Regions from separate parts of the Homo sapiens genome. Here region 2 is linked to region 1. The links are contacts of gene promoters, found by promoter capture Hi-C in human tissues and cell types (Jung and others, 2019). All regions are on one chromosome and are shown on one strand. Each heading gives the region's core, a stretch centred on a gene start or on the middle of the fragment in contact. The rest is flanking DNA. Distances are from core to core; before and after follow the strand shown. Region 1 holds the start of CDADC1 (cytidine and dCMP deaminase domain containing 1). Region 2 overlaps FNDC3A (fibronectin type III domain containing 3A).

Evidence for each region. Contacts are between HindIII fragments. The study calls those that stand out against the background at their distance.
Region 2: a fragment that was not itself captured here is called in contact with the fragment with the promoter of CDADC1 in region 1 in 2 of the 25 tissues and cell types used here (mesenchymal stem cells and spleen).

Annotation. Positions count from the first base shown.
Region 1 is chr13:49,244,279-49,252,142 of GRCh38, forward strand. CDADC1 (cytidine and dCMP deaminase domain containing 1) reads left to right here and starts at 3,647. Exons shown (of 10, transcript NM_030911.4): 1 at 3,647-3,841; 2 at 4,593-4,687. The coding sequence starts at 3,760. LOC105370203 (a long non-coding RNA gene) reads right to left here and starts at 3,562. Exons shown (of 2, transcript NR_135318.1): 1 at 3,357-3,562. RefSeq lists enhancers at 3,508-4,070, 3,540-3,769. The HindIII fragment of the contact is 6,098 bases long and covers 1-4,953 here.
Region 2 is chr13:49,198,555-49,206,418 of GRCh38, forward strand. It overlaps FNDC3A (fibronectin type III domain containing 3A), which reads left to right. Exons shown (of 26, transcript NM_001079673.2): 23 at 1-20; 24 at 3,246-3,412; 25 at 4,603-4,730. Among named protein-coding and RNA genes, the nearest start is that of MLNR, 18 kb to the right of the region's middle. The HindIII fragment of the contact is 3,237 bases long and covers 3,560-6,796 here.

The DNA of each region.
Region 1 (7,864 bases), core at 2,397-4,896:
GGCTGCTCCTTTAGCCTGGATCCCAGAGCCAATTCACAGGAGCAGCAGCATGTAACATGAGTAAAAATTAACCTTTGTGGGGGCAAGCCACTGAGATTTCATGGTCATTTGTGTGAAAGGAAAATGAATCTTGGGGCCCCAAAATCACTAAGCTAAAGGGAAAAGTCAAGCTGGGAACTGCTTAGGACAAACCTGACTCCCTTCTATTCAAGTCATCCCTCTGCTCACTGAGATAAATGTATATCTGATTGCCTCCTTTAGAAAGGGTAATCAGAAGCTCAAAAGAATGCTAGCATTTGTTTCTTATCTACCTAAGACCTGGAAGCCCCCTCCCAACTTCGAGATGTCCCACCTTTCCAGACCAAACCAATGTTCATCTTACATATGTTGATGGATGTTTCATATCTCCCTAAAATGTACAAAACCAAGCTGTGCTCTGACCACCTTGGGCACATGTCGTCAAGACCTCCTGAGGCTGTCACAGGCGCATATCCTTAACTTTGGCAAAATAAACTTTCTAAATTAACTGAGACCCGTCTTAGATTTTGGGGGTTCACATTTGTTACCCACAGCAAGCCGGGTCTAAGCCAACTGATACAGTAACTGGTAAATAACTTCTGTTCTTAGAGTGTGAATACAGCTTGTCTCTCTCATATCAAAGCCCATGGTCCTTCCACTTGATATATAGAATTGTTTATTGATTTAAAAACCATTTTATTGATTAAACTGGCCTTTGTAGAACTCAGCTGCTCTGAGCTTGTCCACTTCTCAGCACTTAGGGAAAATTTCATTTTATAATCCTTTTTAGTCCTCTTATTCCTCTGCAGCAGAACAATTATTCCACCAATACTGTGGAAAAGTTAGCCTAGTCTGAAAAATATTTCAGCTACAAATACCTAAAAATGCAGGATAAAATATGGCTGAGCTAGCAAGAAAGTAAGAGAAATAGTCCAAGTATTTAAACTGCTCTGAAATACTAAAGGACTGAAAATGGAATGAGACCAGGAGTCCAAAGAGAGGTTAATGAGCAATAAAGCTAATGATTGTTTGAAGGGCAGGGCAGATCTAGACTGCTGGGGATTAAAGATACACACACAAACACACATATAACATATATAGGTGTGTATGTATATATATATACATATAGTTATTTTGAGAGTTTAAGACTTAAAGAAAGTTGCAAAAATAATACAGAGTTCCTGTGTTACCCTTCACCCAGCTTCTGCAATAATAATGTCTTACCTATTCACAGCACTTTGGTAAAAGCAGGAAACTGATACTGGTAAAATACTGTTAATACAGGTATAGATCTTATTTGTGTTTTACTAGTTTTGAATGTACCACTTTGCATTTTTGGTGTATAGCTCTATGAATTTTATCACATGTATAGATATGAGTAACTGTCAACACAAAGAAACTCTGTCGTGTTACCTCTTAACAGTCAGACCCTTGTCCCAACCATAACATTTGGCAATCATGGATTTGTTCTTCAATGCTATAATTTTTCTTTGGCTATGAGAATGGTATCTAGATGGAATCATACAGTATACAACACTTTAAGACTGGCTTTTAAAAACTCACCACAATGCCCTTGAGATTCATTCAAGTTGTACGTATCAATAGCTCATTACTTTTTATGGCTGAGTAGTGTCCCATGGCATGGATATACTCCAGTTTGCTTTCTATTCATTCACTAAGGACTGTTTGGCTTGTTTACAGTTTTTTTGTTTTTTTGTTTTTGAGATGGAGTCTCACTCTGTCGCCCAGGCTGGAGTGCAGTGGTGCAATCTTGGCTCACTGCAACCTCTGCCTCCCGGGTTCAAGTGATTCTCCTGCCTAAGCCTCCTGAGTAGGTGGGACTACAGGTACATGCCACCACGCCTGGCTAATTTTTTGTATTTTTAGTAGAGACGGGGTTTCGCCATGTTGCCCAGGCTGATCTCAAACTCCTGACCTCATGATCCGCCCGCCTTGGCCTCCCAAAGTGCTGGGATTACAGGTGTGAGCCACCATGCCTGGCCTGTTTTCAGTTTTTGACTATTAAAAATAAAGCCACCATGACATTCATGTACAGAGTTTTGTTTGAACATAAGTTTTGGTTTGTCTAGGATAAATACCCAGGAGTGTGATTGCTGGGTGATATGATAAGCATATGTGCAACTTTATAAGAAACTGTCAAACTGTTTTCTAGAGTGGTTATGCCATTTTATAGTCCTACCAGCAATGTTTGAGAGATCCGGTTGCTCTGCATCCTCACTAGCATTTAGTGCTGTCAGTACTTGTTATTTTAGCCATTTAAATAGGTGTGTAGTAGAATCTCATTGTGGTTTTAATATACATTTCCCTAATGGCCAATGACACTGAACACTGTTTTACATGTTTATTTGCCATCTGTATATCTTCTTTGGTGAAATGACTATTCAAGTCTTTGATCCATTTTCTAACTGGACTGTTTACTTACTCTGAGTTTATATGGTTCTTTATATATTCTGGATATGAGTCCTTTGTTGGATACATGCTTTGCAAATATTTTCTCCTAGTCCATGGCCTGTCTTTAAACCTTAGTGTTAATTGCCATGAAGGCACTGTCAACAAAGTCTACACTTCAGGAAAGGTGCAGAATGGAGTTCTCTGGATATAGTCAAATCACCTGAAGAGCTTTACCCTCAGAACAGGCGAACTAGAAAAAATTCTACAAGCCAAAGAAATAAATAGCAAGCTGAAAGATAGATCTGAAGAAATTAGCCAGAATGTGGCTCAGAGAAACAAAATGATGCAATATTTTAAAAATAATAATTTAGAACCTCAGAAGGTTTAACCTATGCCTAATAGGAATTCCAGGAGGAGAGTCTAGAGTAATGTTGTCCAATACAGTAGTAGCCAATAGCCACATGTCACTACTTAAAATGTAAATTAATTAAAACTAAATGAAGTTAAAAATGCAGTTCCTTGGTTGTACTGGCCACATTTCAGATGCTCAATAGCCACATGTGGCTGGTGGCTACCATATTGGACAGTGCAGATATAGAATACTACAGGAAATCCTACTGGACAGTGCTGATCTAGGTCATAAAACAAGTCTGAACAAATTTCAAAGAACTGGTATGATACAGATGTTTTGTGGAAATAAACTAGACATTAGAAATTAAAAACAAAATAACTCCTACTGCCTCCTCTCACCTTTTTCCCCATTACAATTCCACCTCTTAATGTCTTCATGTTCTTGATGAGAAGCAGAACGTCCCTACTGTGTTCCATGGCACCAAGTTCCCCAGAACCCGCCAGTCTCTGATGACAGAACATCCTGGACCGCCCAGCTCCACACCCCAACCCAAGAAGTTCTCTAAAACACTGACCATGACAGCCTGGGGTAGGTTTCCACTTTAACATTCTGACCAAAATTCTCAACTCGATGCAGTCAGAGTCTGCGCAACCTGGGACCTCGAGCCAAGAAATCCTCAAGTGACCTTACTTGGCAAAACCAACAAAACAACCAAATACAGGTCTCAAGCGATTTACAGCTCGGTGCTTAACTCGGTCACCGGCCGAGGGGCAGCCCTCTGGCGCCAAAGCCCCGCCTCTCTATGACGTCACACGAGGAGCCCTGAAGTGGCGGTCAAGCTTGAGGCGTCATCTGGCTGCGCCTAGTGGGCCGTTGCCTTACAGTTGCTGAGAGGAGGCGAGAGGCGGGGGCGCTAGGGCCGAGATCATGTCTGACTGGGAGAGGTTTCCTTGGCAGCAGAGGACGCTAGGTTTGGGATGAAAGAAGCTGGGCAGATGCAAAATCTGGAGAGCGCGAGGGCCGGGCGGTCAGTCAGCACCCAGACTGGCAGCATGACCGGTGAGTGTCCGGGACCCTGCTCCCGCCACCCTACCTTTCGCTCTGCCCTGTGCGTCTCCCGTCATTGAACTCCAGATTCCTTGTCTGAGCCTCTTTGCCTCCCCTGCTGCTTTTGGATGTCTCCTGCCCGCCCTCTGCGTGTCCCCTCCGCGGTCGCCAGGACCAATCGGCTCGGTCGCACTGGCTTTTGAAGTCTCGCTTTTTACCCCTGTTAGCTACTTCTCACAGGACCTAGAGCTGGGGCCTCTGAGGTCAAAGAGCCTGAACATTTCCAAACGGCGCTTTTGCCTTGATTTCCAAATTAACCGCACGTGACGCTTTCCTGTATTTCGACTGCTTTACCGTCGAAGGTCAGCGCATTTTTCGGGTTGTGTTCTAATCGCTTTCCTTTTAGCAACGCCCCATCACAGTCCAAAGAAAAGCTTGCACCACGACGACGTCAGATGCGAAGACTTTTCACAGCTTGCTTTGGGTTGTCCCCCTCAGCTATGTGTATTAGCTGTACCGTTTTTTCCTGCAGGGTGAGGGCTGGAGAAAGAAGGCTCAACTTTTTAAGTGGAGAAGGAGGTAGCCACGACTAAGGCTGAAGCGTCTACTGCTAAGATACCTCTGACTCTCTTGTCCCCTATCTTTTTCTGTGCCTCTTGCGAAAGCAGCTGGGCTTAGGCTGCAGCACCTAAGTGGCATTGAGATTGGCTCCCTTTTTCACCATTAGTAACAAAGTTTAAAGTGTTTGTCGTCTCTTTTGTAGGTCAGATACCAAGGCTTTCTAAAGTCAACCTTTTCACTCTGCTCAGCCTCTGGATGGAGCTCTTTCCAGCAGAAGCCCAGCGGCAAAAATCTCAGGTATAATTTGTTTCATAGTTTTTCCCCTTAGAAAAGCAGTGGTTTAAAATCTGAGTTTATTGCTCCAGTTTCTGTCATACCTAAAACCAAACTTAACAAGGCTTAAGATTTAAAAAATATCTTTATTGATTAACATGACACTTTATAATTCCCAGCCGTAATAAGTCATCTTCCATTCTAAAAATACTTTCTGAGAATACCATGTTTATCGGGTACTAATGGTATTCATATGTCAGTTCGGCTAATAAGATTATTGTCTATACCACATAATTTCCCCCAATTATATATACTGTTGGTGTTTTATCTAGGTAGTTTACTCCTCTGCCACAGAAATATATAAATTGCCTGGAGATAGAGACCATGTCTTATTTTACCTAGCATATACCCTTTAGAGTCTAGCATTATATGAGTGCTAATTGATTAATGTTGGATGGAAGTAGTCTCTTTTTGGATCTTGAAAGACAGGATCAAAACAGATTAGAAATGGGCTGTGTGCAGTGGCTCACGCCTGTAATCCTAGCACTTTGTGAGGCTGAGGTGGGTGGATCACCTGAGGTCAGGAGTTCAAAACCAGCCTGGGCAACATAGTGAAACCCCATCTCTATTAAACATACAAAAATTAGCCAGGAGTGGTGGTATCCGCCTGTAGTCCCAGTTACGCGGGAGGCTGAGGCATGAGAATCGCTTGAACGAATCGTTGGAGGTTACAGTGAGCTGAGATTGCACCACTGCACTCCAGCCTGGGTGACAGAGCAAGACTCCATCTCAAAAAAAAAATCAGAAATGTATAGTAAGAATAATCATAAAAGCCAATATATTGGAATTGGAAGTATAAACATCCTGCGTCTTTTCTTTCTCCTACCCTTGGGGCAACAAGGGGCTAGGTTCTCATTTTCCTCCATGCTTGGAATGGCATGATGCTAGGTTCTCATCATTTCTGTTTGATAATTTTGGAAGCTTAGGGTGTTGGCATTAATTTTTATAGGGGGCCACGGCCATTGGAAAATAGTATTAGGTTAAGTTGAGCATTTAAGACTTTTTTTAAAACAGAGGTAAAATGAGGGGGGTGGGGCAGAAAATTACACATGGCTTCTCACCACTCTAACAACATTACTGTTAATATTTTGGTGCTTCCAATCTTAAGCATGAGGTTTTTTATTTTTACTCTTACAAAGTTGTAGTTATATTCTGCATGTACTCGCTGAGGTTTCCAACTTGCCCATAATTCTGCTGAAAGGTTGCTTTAGATTTTCCAGAGAAAGACTATAAATCCTTAAATTCCCACAGTACTCTTAGGAGACCACCTACTCTTTTCATTTTACTGTGGATGAGGTTTTGTGCTTGGCACTGGAGACACAAAGCAGAAAAAACATGGTCTTTATTTTCTAATGAGTAGAAACACTAGGCATTTAAACAATTAAAACAGAATTGGTGGAGTGAGTACATAGTATAAGCAGAGATGTTGGCAAGACTGGGAGCCAGGCTCTATATGGGGAAGTGAAGGAAGGATTCACAGAGAAGGTCGTATTTGCACTGAGACATGAAGGATTAGTGGACTTTTGCCCAAGCCAAGGAACTCTACATGGAAAAGCTTGGAGCAATGAGAGAATTTGTGGTCCTCAGGCCAGAAAGTGAAGTTAGGTAGAGGGAAGAGACTGGAAAGGAGCTTGACAATGTAGACAGGAATCATATCATAAAAAGCATTGTATGCCTTGCAAAGGAGTTTAGATTTTATCTTATCAATATAGGAATTGCATTGAGGAATTTTAACAGGATGTGAGGATATTCGCTTCTCATAATAAAATGATATCTCTTGGTGTAGTTTCCTCCCCCAATTCCTATGTGAAGTGTTTTATAGATAGTAAAACATTATTTAAAATATTATACATCGTTATTCCATATTTCTCACCCTCATCCCCCCACTCTGGCTCTACATGTTATTAACGGCTGAGAAAGCTCTTCATTTCCTTCATTAATTTTGAAATTCCTTTATTCCTTCTACTTGTTAATAGTTTAGTATTATTTTATGAAAGTAGATTTCCAAGCTGTTAGGGATTTTATGTAGTGTTGTGTTTTTTTTGTTTTGTTTTGTTTTGTTTTCAGATAAAATTTATTTTGAAGAGCCAGATTAGAAACAAATATTTAGAGGTTTAAGACTTTTAGGCCGGGTGCAGTGGCTCATGCCTGTAATCCCAGCACTTTGGGAGGCCGAGGCAGGCAGATCACAAGGTCAAGAGATCGAGACCATCTTGGCCAACATGGTGAAACCCCGTCTCTGCCAAAAATACAAAAAGTAGCTGGGCGTGGTGGTGCGTGCCTGTAGTCCCAGCTACTTAGGAGGCTGAGGCAGGAGAAACACTTGAACCCAGGAGGCAGAGATTGCATTGAGCTGAGATCACGCCACTGCACTCCAGCCTGGCGACAGAAAAAAAAAGAAAAAAAAAAGAAAAAAAAACGTATAAAAACTGGACATATTAGAGATTGAATACAAATTTTGAAAAGGCGTTCTTTTTTTTGTAAATATCCAGATGTGATCTCGTTTTAGTTCTGTTTTTTTATATACACACCACATCCTGTGCTGAAATTAAGTTTTTTTTTTCAACAGGCACAAGTTGTATTTAATTAGTGAGAAATGACATTTATGTTTCTATTAGGAAGGAATTGATTGGCCAACTAATTGTTGAAGTTTATTTGCAAATAATACACACCCTACTGTTTCCTCATACTATATAGAGAAAGCTGTGGATCTGAGAAAACTGAGATGAAGCTTTCAGTTAGCATTTTGTTAAAAAAAATACTACCAAGGAAATTTCAAAACTATATTAGCAACAAAATTTTATACAACTTTATATCATGTTTAACAAAAGATCAAGGTTATGACTCTCATTTTCTCCCAAGCCAACAACTCTTAAGTTTTCCTGGCATCTCATTCCTTCATCTGGTGGGCACCATGGAAGTTTTCTAAATGAAAATAAATAAGTCTTTTGTTTCAGATATTTTATTTGGGATCTTATTTAGAAATCTGACTCATACGCATGTCTATTTAAGGCTTTTAAATGGAAAGTTATAACACATAGAAATGAGTACAGAAGGCATCAAAACAAAGAACATCCATGTCTTCAGAAAGCCAGGCAACCTGGAACTAGGATTGACTTGGCTATATGAAAGGTTATCACT
Region 2 (7,864 bases), core at 3,928-6,427, 44 kb before region 1:
ATGGAGGATAAGAATGGACGGTAGGTTTTTTTAATTGCTTCTTTATATAGTTTCTTAGGTCTTAAGTATATACATTTCTGTAACTATTAGAAGTAGGCCAGGTGTGGTGGCTGACACCTGTAATCTCAGCACTTTGGGAGGCTGAGGCAGGCGAATTGCTTGAGCCCAGGAGTGCAAGACCAGCCTGGGCAAGACAGTGAGACCTTGTCTCTAAAAAAAATTTATTTTAATGAAGTAAGTTTTCAAAAACGAAGTCAAGATTGTCATACAAAAGTGTGCTGTTTTTAAAACGTTAGAAAACACAATGTACATTTCCTGTTTATAATTTGTGAGTGGAATACCAAGAGAAAAAAATAAGTGGGCTACTGTTTGGTTGTTTTCTGTAATCCATTTACTGTTTTCATGATAGTAAAAGACACCTAATCTTAGATACAAAATAAACTCTTCAGTGTTTATTTCTAGCAGGACACAATTTTTTTTTTTTAAGACAAGGTCTTGCTCTGTCACCCAGGCTGGCCTCCAGTGGCACTATCTTGGCTCATTGCAACCTCTGCCTCCAGGGCTGGAGCCATCCTCCCACCTCAGCTCCCCAAGTATCTGTGACCACAGGCGTGGGCCACTACACCTGGCTAATTTTTGTATTTTTAGTAGAGATGGGGTTTCACCATGTCGCTCACACTGGTCTCGAACTCCTGGGCTCAAGTGGTCCTCCCCGCTCAGCCTCACTGAGTGCTGAGATTACAACTCATGAGCCACTGTGCCTGACCGAAACAATTTTTTTTTTTTTTTTTTTTGAGACGGAGTCTCACTCTCACCAGGCTGGAGTGCAGTGACGCGATCTCGGCTCACTGCAATCTCCGCCTCTCAGGTTCAAACAATTCCCCTGCCTCAGCCTCCCAAGTAGCTGGGACTACAGGTGCGCACCACCACGCCCGGCTAATTTTTTGTATTTTAGTAGAGGCGGAGTTTCACCATGTTGGCCAGGATGGTCTCCATCTCCTGACCTCCCGATCCACCTGCCTCGACCTCCCAAAGTGCTGGGATTACAGGCGTGAGCCACTGCACCCGGCCCTGAAACAATTTTATAGTAAATGATTATGATCGTTCCTGGCCTCTGAGATCCTTGAGGGCAGAGATTATGTTTCAGTCTTTTCCAGATTCCTGACACAGGGCCTGCACGCTAAATGAATACAGTTCAGTTTTTCACTGTGTGATCTCAGTTAGATTCTGTGATTAATTATCTAGTCCCTTTGCTAATCACTGTTGCTAATCTTTGCTAATCTTTGAATTAGAAAGAACCTAATTTCATTCAGGTTCTTTCTGTGCCTCTTTCACATCTTCATGTACATGTTGTACTATTCCTATATAATGTGCCATATACTGCCACACTAAATCATGTATTTTAATTACAGTGTTAACTCTGAATATTTGTAACAGTCATTCTAATGCCAACTAGGGCTATTTATTCACATTATATTCCATATAAGCAATGCCACATACCTCCCACAGCTGTTAATCCTTTAATATTTTAAGAATTTTGAATTTTGCTTTTCTACTTTTCACTGAATATATTAGAAACAATTTCCAAATCTGATGGACTCAGAATACTAGTAACAGTTTTTCCCAAGATTTACTTTTCTGTGTTGTTTGTATCTTAGCCAGGTATTCAACAATGAAATATTCATGGTGCTTGTACATAACCACTCTCTATCAGAAATACTTATACATTTAAAATAACATATGGAATAATTTTGTATACTAGTATATCACCAGTAAGAACATTACACAGAACAAACGTGATCATTTCCTAAAATCTGTATCGATGAATGTTAGCCTTTGTTCTTGGCAGAATTTTATGTAATCTTTGTAGCCTTATCTCTACAAAGAGATTATTTGCCTTGTACAGGTTTTTGGTATAGCCATTTATCTTTAATATATGTTATTATTACTGGACAAATTAATTGTTTAAATTTTTTTCCTCCCCTTTCTAGCATACATTTGGGGTAGTGCAAGAAGGCTTACTGGAAACAGGTCTAATTAGTGTTTGGTTGAAAGATAATAGAATAAAGATTCTATTAGATATAAATTCTATTATAGAACTTCCAACTTAATATTCAGCTAGCATCTAGAGAATTGTTATGGGGTATGAATATGGCTCATGGCCTTTGGTTGTGGAAAATAAAGAAATTAAAACCTTTTATGATACTGTTAAGTTTAATGCACACATTTAATAAATTAAATCAATTTAATATCTTTGATTACTTTCATTCCCTTTGATTTTCACAACTATATACACTTGCTGTGGGATGGTATCATAATGATACTTTAGTTGTTCCCTGATCCAGATTTTGTCATTGTTCAGCTTTTTTAAACAGTGGTATTACCACTATTTTTTTTTCCTGTCATTAAAAAAAAATTTAGAGGTTGAAAAGGCAAGGCTTATCCAATTACTGCTTATTGGAAGTACTGTTTCTTCCTGTCATTAAATATTTCTTTATTTTTAACTTGGCTACAATTTTCAGACTGTTAGCATTGAATAAGCATTCATTATTCATTCTCTAATTTCCAAAAATTTTAGAAACATCCAATCAAAAATAATGGGATGCATTCAACTTATAGATAACATATTAGGAGAAATATGTATGATATTCAACTTCATTGAACAGTTCAAGTGGGTAATGTATTGGAAATTTTATATTATCATACTGCTTTTGTAAATCTCTAAAAAAACGTCACCAAGTCAACTAAAAATCTGCCTGGGAATTGAGAATTCTCTTTTTTCCAGATAAAGACAAGGAAGATTAAAATAGAAACTTAATCTCATAGCTCAGGTCTCTATGCCATACTTGGCAAATTTTATCAATATGACTTTAGTTAGAAATAATTTGTAATGAAAATTGTGATGTTCTGAGCATCTTTTAAAATGTACATTAACAAAACAGTATTCAGAAACAAAGCTAAACCGGAAGCCTGAGAAGAAACAGTTATGGTCGGACATGAAATTTAGTAACAGACTTTTGGTAAATCATGTCAAATTGGGAAATTTACCAAATATCCTATTTTTCTTAATCTGATGAAAAACAGATTTATTTTAAGTGACATAGAGTTCCTGGCATCAAACTTTTGGGGTAACTTATCACTCCTAAATAATGTTCATAACTGTGTTTTTATACTAGTTTGTAAAACACTTTAATAAGGTATCATAAGGTAGTATAAGGTTTATCTAATAGTTATTTCCATTTTAGGTTTGTATCCCTATACAGAGGACCATGTCATACATACAAAGTACAAAGACTTAATGAGTCAACATCCTATAAATTCTGTATTCAAGCTTGTAATGAAGCTGGGGAAGGTCCCCTCTCCCAAGAATATATTTTCACTACTCCAAAATCTGTCCCAGCTGCCTTGAAAGGTAAGTTATACATCCTGAACTTATTTTCTTTATAATAAATTACTTTTTAATGTATTTTCATAAATGCTTTGTTTACTGATATTAAAATTTAGCATCCAGTATATGTCCACCAGTTATACAAAATCGTATAGGCAAGCCCAACTCTACTGAGAGTTCCACTCAATAATAAAAGCTGTTTTATCTGGCACGCTCATATTCAGACAAGTACTGGCTTTTGTCACTGATGTTTTTAATAATGTAGCATAAAAATACTAAATTGAATAGGAAGGCTGGTTTTCTAATGAGGTCATTTGCTTAAAGAAAAAAATCACAAACTCTGGTTGTTTAAACGTTTTGAGTTATTGATATTACATTCATTTGGATTTCAGAAGGAAAGCTTGGTCATCTGTTAAGCAAAACAAATTCTTCATTAATGTGGGTTTTTCAATTAGTTTTACACACACATGTACACATATTTACACACATTTGTATATACATTTATCTTTTAATTTTAGAGGGGTTCTTATTTTAAAGTGACTCTGGCAAGGGCTACACTCTATTTTTAGCTGAAAAGTCTATAAAGTTAATTGCTCTGAAGACTAATCACAGAGACTTCTAGAACCATATCCTAGATCATGTACTTAAACCTATCATTTGTTAAACAGCAGAACTCTTCTTGACTAGTCTTTCTAATAATATTGAGTTTCACTGAGTCATTTTTCTGTTTGCTCATCAAGTTTAGTGTCTCTTAGCTTTAAGAAGAGTGCTGACTATAAGCAGGGCACAGTGGCTCACACCTATAAGCCCAGTGCTTTGGGAGACTGAAGTGGGAGGCTCACTTAAGGCCAGGAGTATTGAGACCAACGTGGGCAACATACTGAGACCTGCCTCTCTACAAAAGAAATTTTGAATCAGCTGGGCATGGCAGCATATGCCTGTGTGTGTAGCTGCACAGGAGGCTGAGGCTGCATTGAGCTATGATCGCACCACTGTTGTCCAGGCTGGGTGACAGAGTGAGATCCCATATCTTAGAATACAAGAGTGCTGATTTTAACCTCTTTGGATGCAAATTTCAAAAATTCACTGATACTTATTTCAAGTTTATAAGTGGATTTTAAATATTTGTTGATTTTTATTAAGACAAGTGTCTGCATGATGTACCAAATTAAAAATCAAGTGGAACAGATATTATTTATATTTGTTTCCTACAGCCCCCAAAATAGAGAAAGTAAATGATCACATTTGTGAAATTACATGGGAGTGTTTACAGCCAATGAAAGGTGATCCAGTTATTTACAGTCTTCAAGTTATGTTGGGAAAAGATTCAGAATTCAAACAGGTATGTACCAAGATATTAATGTGTGGATGCATATTTTTACCCTTTTTTAATTTTTATGTATTTTCAGTGTAAGATTTGGCCATCTTTACCTTTTAATTCATAAATATTTATTCAGTATATATTATGTTCCAGAGATCTCAAGATTCCAAATCTTTTCAGTATGAACTACACTTGAACAGATTATTCATTTATCTGATAAGTATTCATTGAATTCTGTGCCAGGCACTCAGGATATAGCACTGAACAAAAAGTCCCTTGCCTCCATGGAGCTTACTTACATTCTGGTGGAAAAGAAGACACTATAAGCAAGTAAACATGACAATATATTGTCAGATATAAGTGTAATGGAGAAAAAACAAAATTGGATAAAAGAAATAGGGAGTGGAGGGGGAGGGCACTGAGTGTTATTTCATTTGGGGCACTCAGCTGACATTTCAGCATGGCCCAGAGGAGATGACTATGGAGAGAAGAGTGTTCCAAGAAGATACGCTGAGGCAGGAACATGCCTATTAAATCTGATGAACATAAAGGAGCCAATATGACTGGATGGAGAGAGCAAAGGGAAGAGTTGATAAGGTCGGATAGTTAATCCTAAGGGGCCTATAGGTGGTATGGAGTGACGTAAGGCATAATAGGCCATACTGTGGCTTTTACTCCACGTGAAATGAGAAGACAGTGGAGGATTTTGACCAGGGTATTCACGTGATCAGACACAACGTTGTTTTGACTATAGTGTTGAAACTACAGTAGGACAAGGGCAGAACTAGAAAGACTAATAAGGAGGCTTTTACAATAATAGTATTAATAATAGTCATAATGCAGTGCTGTAAATATGACATTAGGCATGAAGTTATAATGGAAACCTAGAGGAATTGTCACCTTCCTAGCCAAGAGGTTTCAAAGATAGCTTTCTGATAAAGCAAGAATAGCAGTGAGATAGAGTGGAGTGTTGCCAATGTTTGTTACAACTTTTAAAAAGAATAAGCTTTTATACCACTCCAAAGACTAATTAAATACCTATACATTTCACCTGATTTTCCCTTTTTCCTGTAACCTTAATTTTGAGGGCTTTTAAGCTGGGTTGTTTTCATTGTGTCTTATATTTTCCTCTTCCACTAAAAAAAAGATCCTTCATTTGTTTTATTCCAGTATTGTGCTATTGTAACCACTCTATGTAATATCTTAACTGAAATTACAAAAGATCCAAAGAGTCAGATTAAATCTGGCATGCAATTGTTTTTCTTTATTAAGCCATCTGCAAATTGACAGGATAATTAGATTTGAAATGTAATTTACAGATAAGTAGGTTTCCTTCTAAGGAGGAAGCAAAATTAATATTAAAGAAAATATAATTGTATTACACGTTTAAAGGAAATAGGGATTCCACATTTGAGTAGTATATGAATAACCTTAAGGCTTGTTTGAATGACTTTTCTTGGGTGTATAAACCTTCTGAAATTAGCTTGAGCAGGTTAATCTGTTTTCTTCAGTCCTGTATTTACAGTTACCTGTGTCTCTTCCTGCTTAGAGGTCTTCCCACATCTGAAATACAAAATTGAAAACTTGATCCCATCATCTTCCCTCCCAGTATCTCCTCTCCAACATCTTTACTTCATCAGTGTCATAGACACCAATATCATCTTGGTCTCCAAGCTTTAAATTCTTAGATGAATTTTTTTTTCCTATCAACTCTTAATCAGAATTTGTTTCTAAATCCATAAAACTACATCAGGGCCTCATCACTTTTTACATGTACATCAAGAGTCCCTGTCCTACTCAGCTCCCTTCAGTCCTTCACACAGCCTCACGATTAGGATTCCATAAACACTGTTTTAATGTCACACACCTACAGTGGTCCCTTTTGAATTAACCTAAATTTCCAACTAGTGTAATTAATGTATTCTTCCTCTTTGTACCAGATCTCTTATCACCCTCATGCCATTTGTTGAGGTTTTTCTTTCTTAACCTAATACTGCCAGGCTCATGGAATGGTATATGAAGACACATGGAAAGTATAAAGACAAAAATCATCTATTATATCCATAAGACAAATACATATTTTTAATTTTTACTCAATTTACTTCAGTGTTATGTATACAATTTTACACTACTTTATCATACAACATTCTGTTTTAAGTGAATCCTTTTACAGGTTGAAGCATCCCAAATAAAGTCCAAAATTCAAAATGTTCCACCCAAAATCTGAAACTTTTTGAGGATCGATATGACACTCAAAGGAAATGCTCATTGGAGCATTTCCAATTTCAGATTTTTGGGTTTGGAATGCTCAACTAGTAAATATGCAACTATTCCAAAATCAAAAAAATTGAAATGCTTCTGGTTCCAAGCATTTCTTATAAGGGATACCCAACCTGTACCATCTCCCAAACATGGATCATTTCTACATTCTATTCCCTGAAACATTATGCATCCTTAGAACTAATGTATAGTCACCATTTTCTTTCAGATTTATCTTAAAGCTTCTTTCAGTAAGTTCCTTTATATATTGTTATCAGCATCCACATTTTTATTTATTGCCAATAATTCACTAATTTAATGTCCTTTTATTAAGTACCTACTATATGCTAGATTCTGGAGACAGAAAAATGAGACAGAGATCTTACTTTACTTTGAGAGCAAAGCAATATGTAAAAATTTAGATTTACATCACAGGTACAATTGAGGCAGCTAAAAGTACTTGAAAGCCCCCATGTGTTGGTTCTTCTGACTTGTAGCCCACCAACTAACTGGAGAAACTCAACTGACAAGTCATTTAACCCTATGAACCTTGGTTTTCTCAATTACAGAATGAGTGGTGGGAGGTTGCTCATTATTGGAAATGATAGCTCCTACAGATTGAGCAGTGACTGCATGCTGAGCACTGCGCTAAGTGCTTTAACAAGCATTAGTTCATTTCATCCTCATAATTATCATACATGTTAACTACTAGTATGTCTGTTATACTAAGGTAGTTGGTCTAAAATCACATCTGGAGTGTGAAGTGGTAGAGCAGACCTTGGATGCCAGGGGTGAACAGTTCTAGTATATAGCTTCTTATTTATGCCTAGTGTTCCATTATTGGAACACTAAGCTTGTGGTAGTTATTTATATCTCACTGATCAAGGTTATTGCCA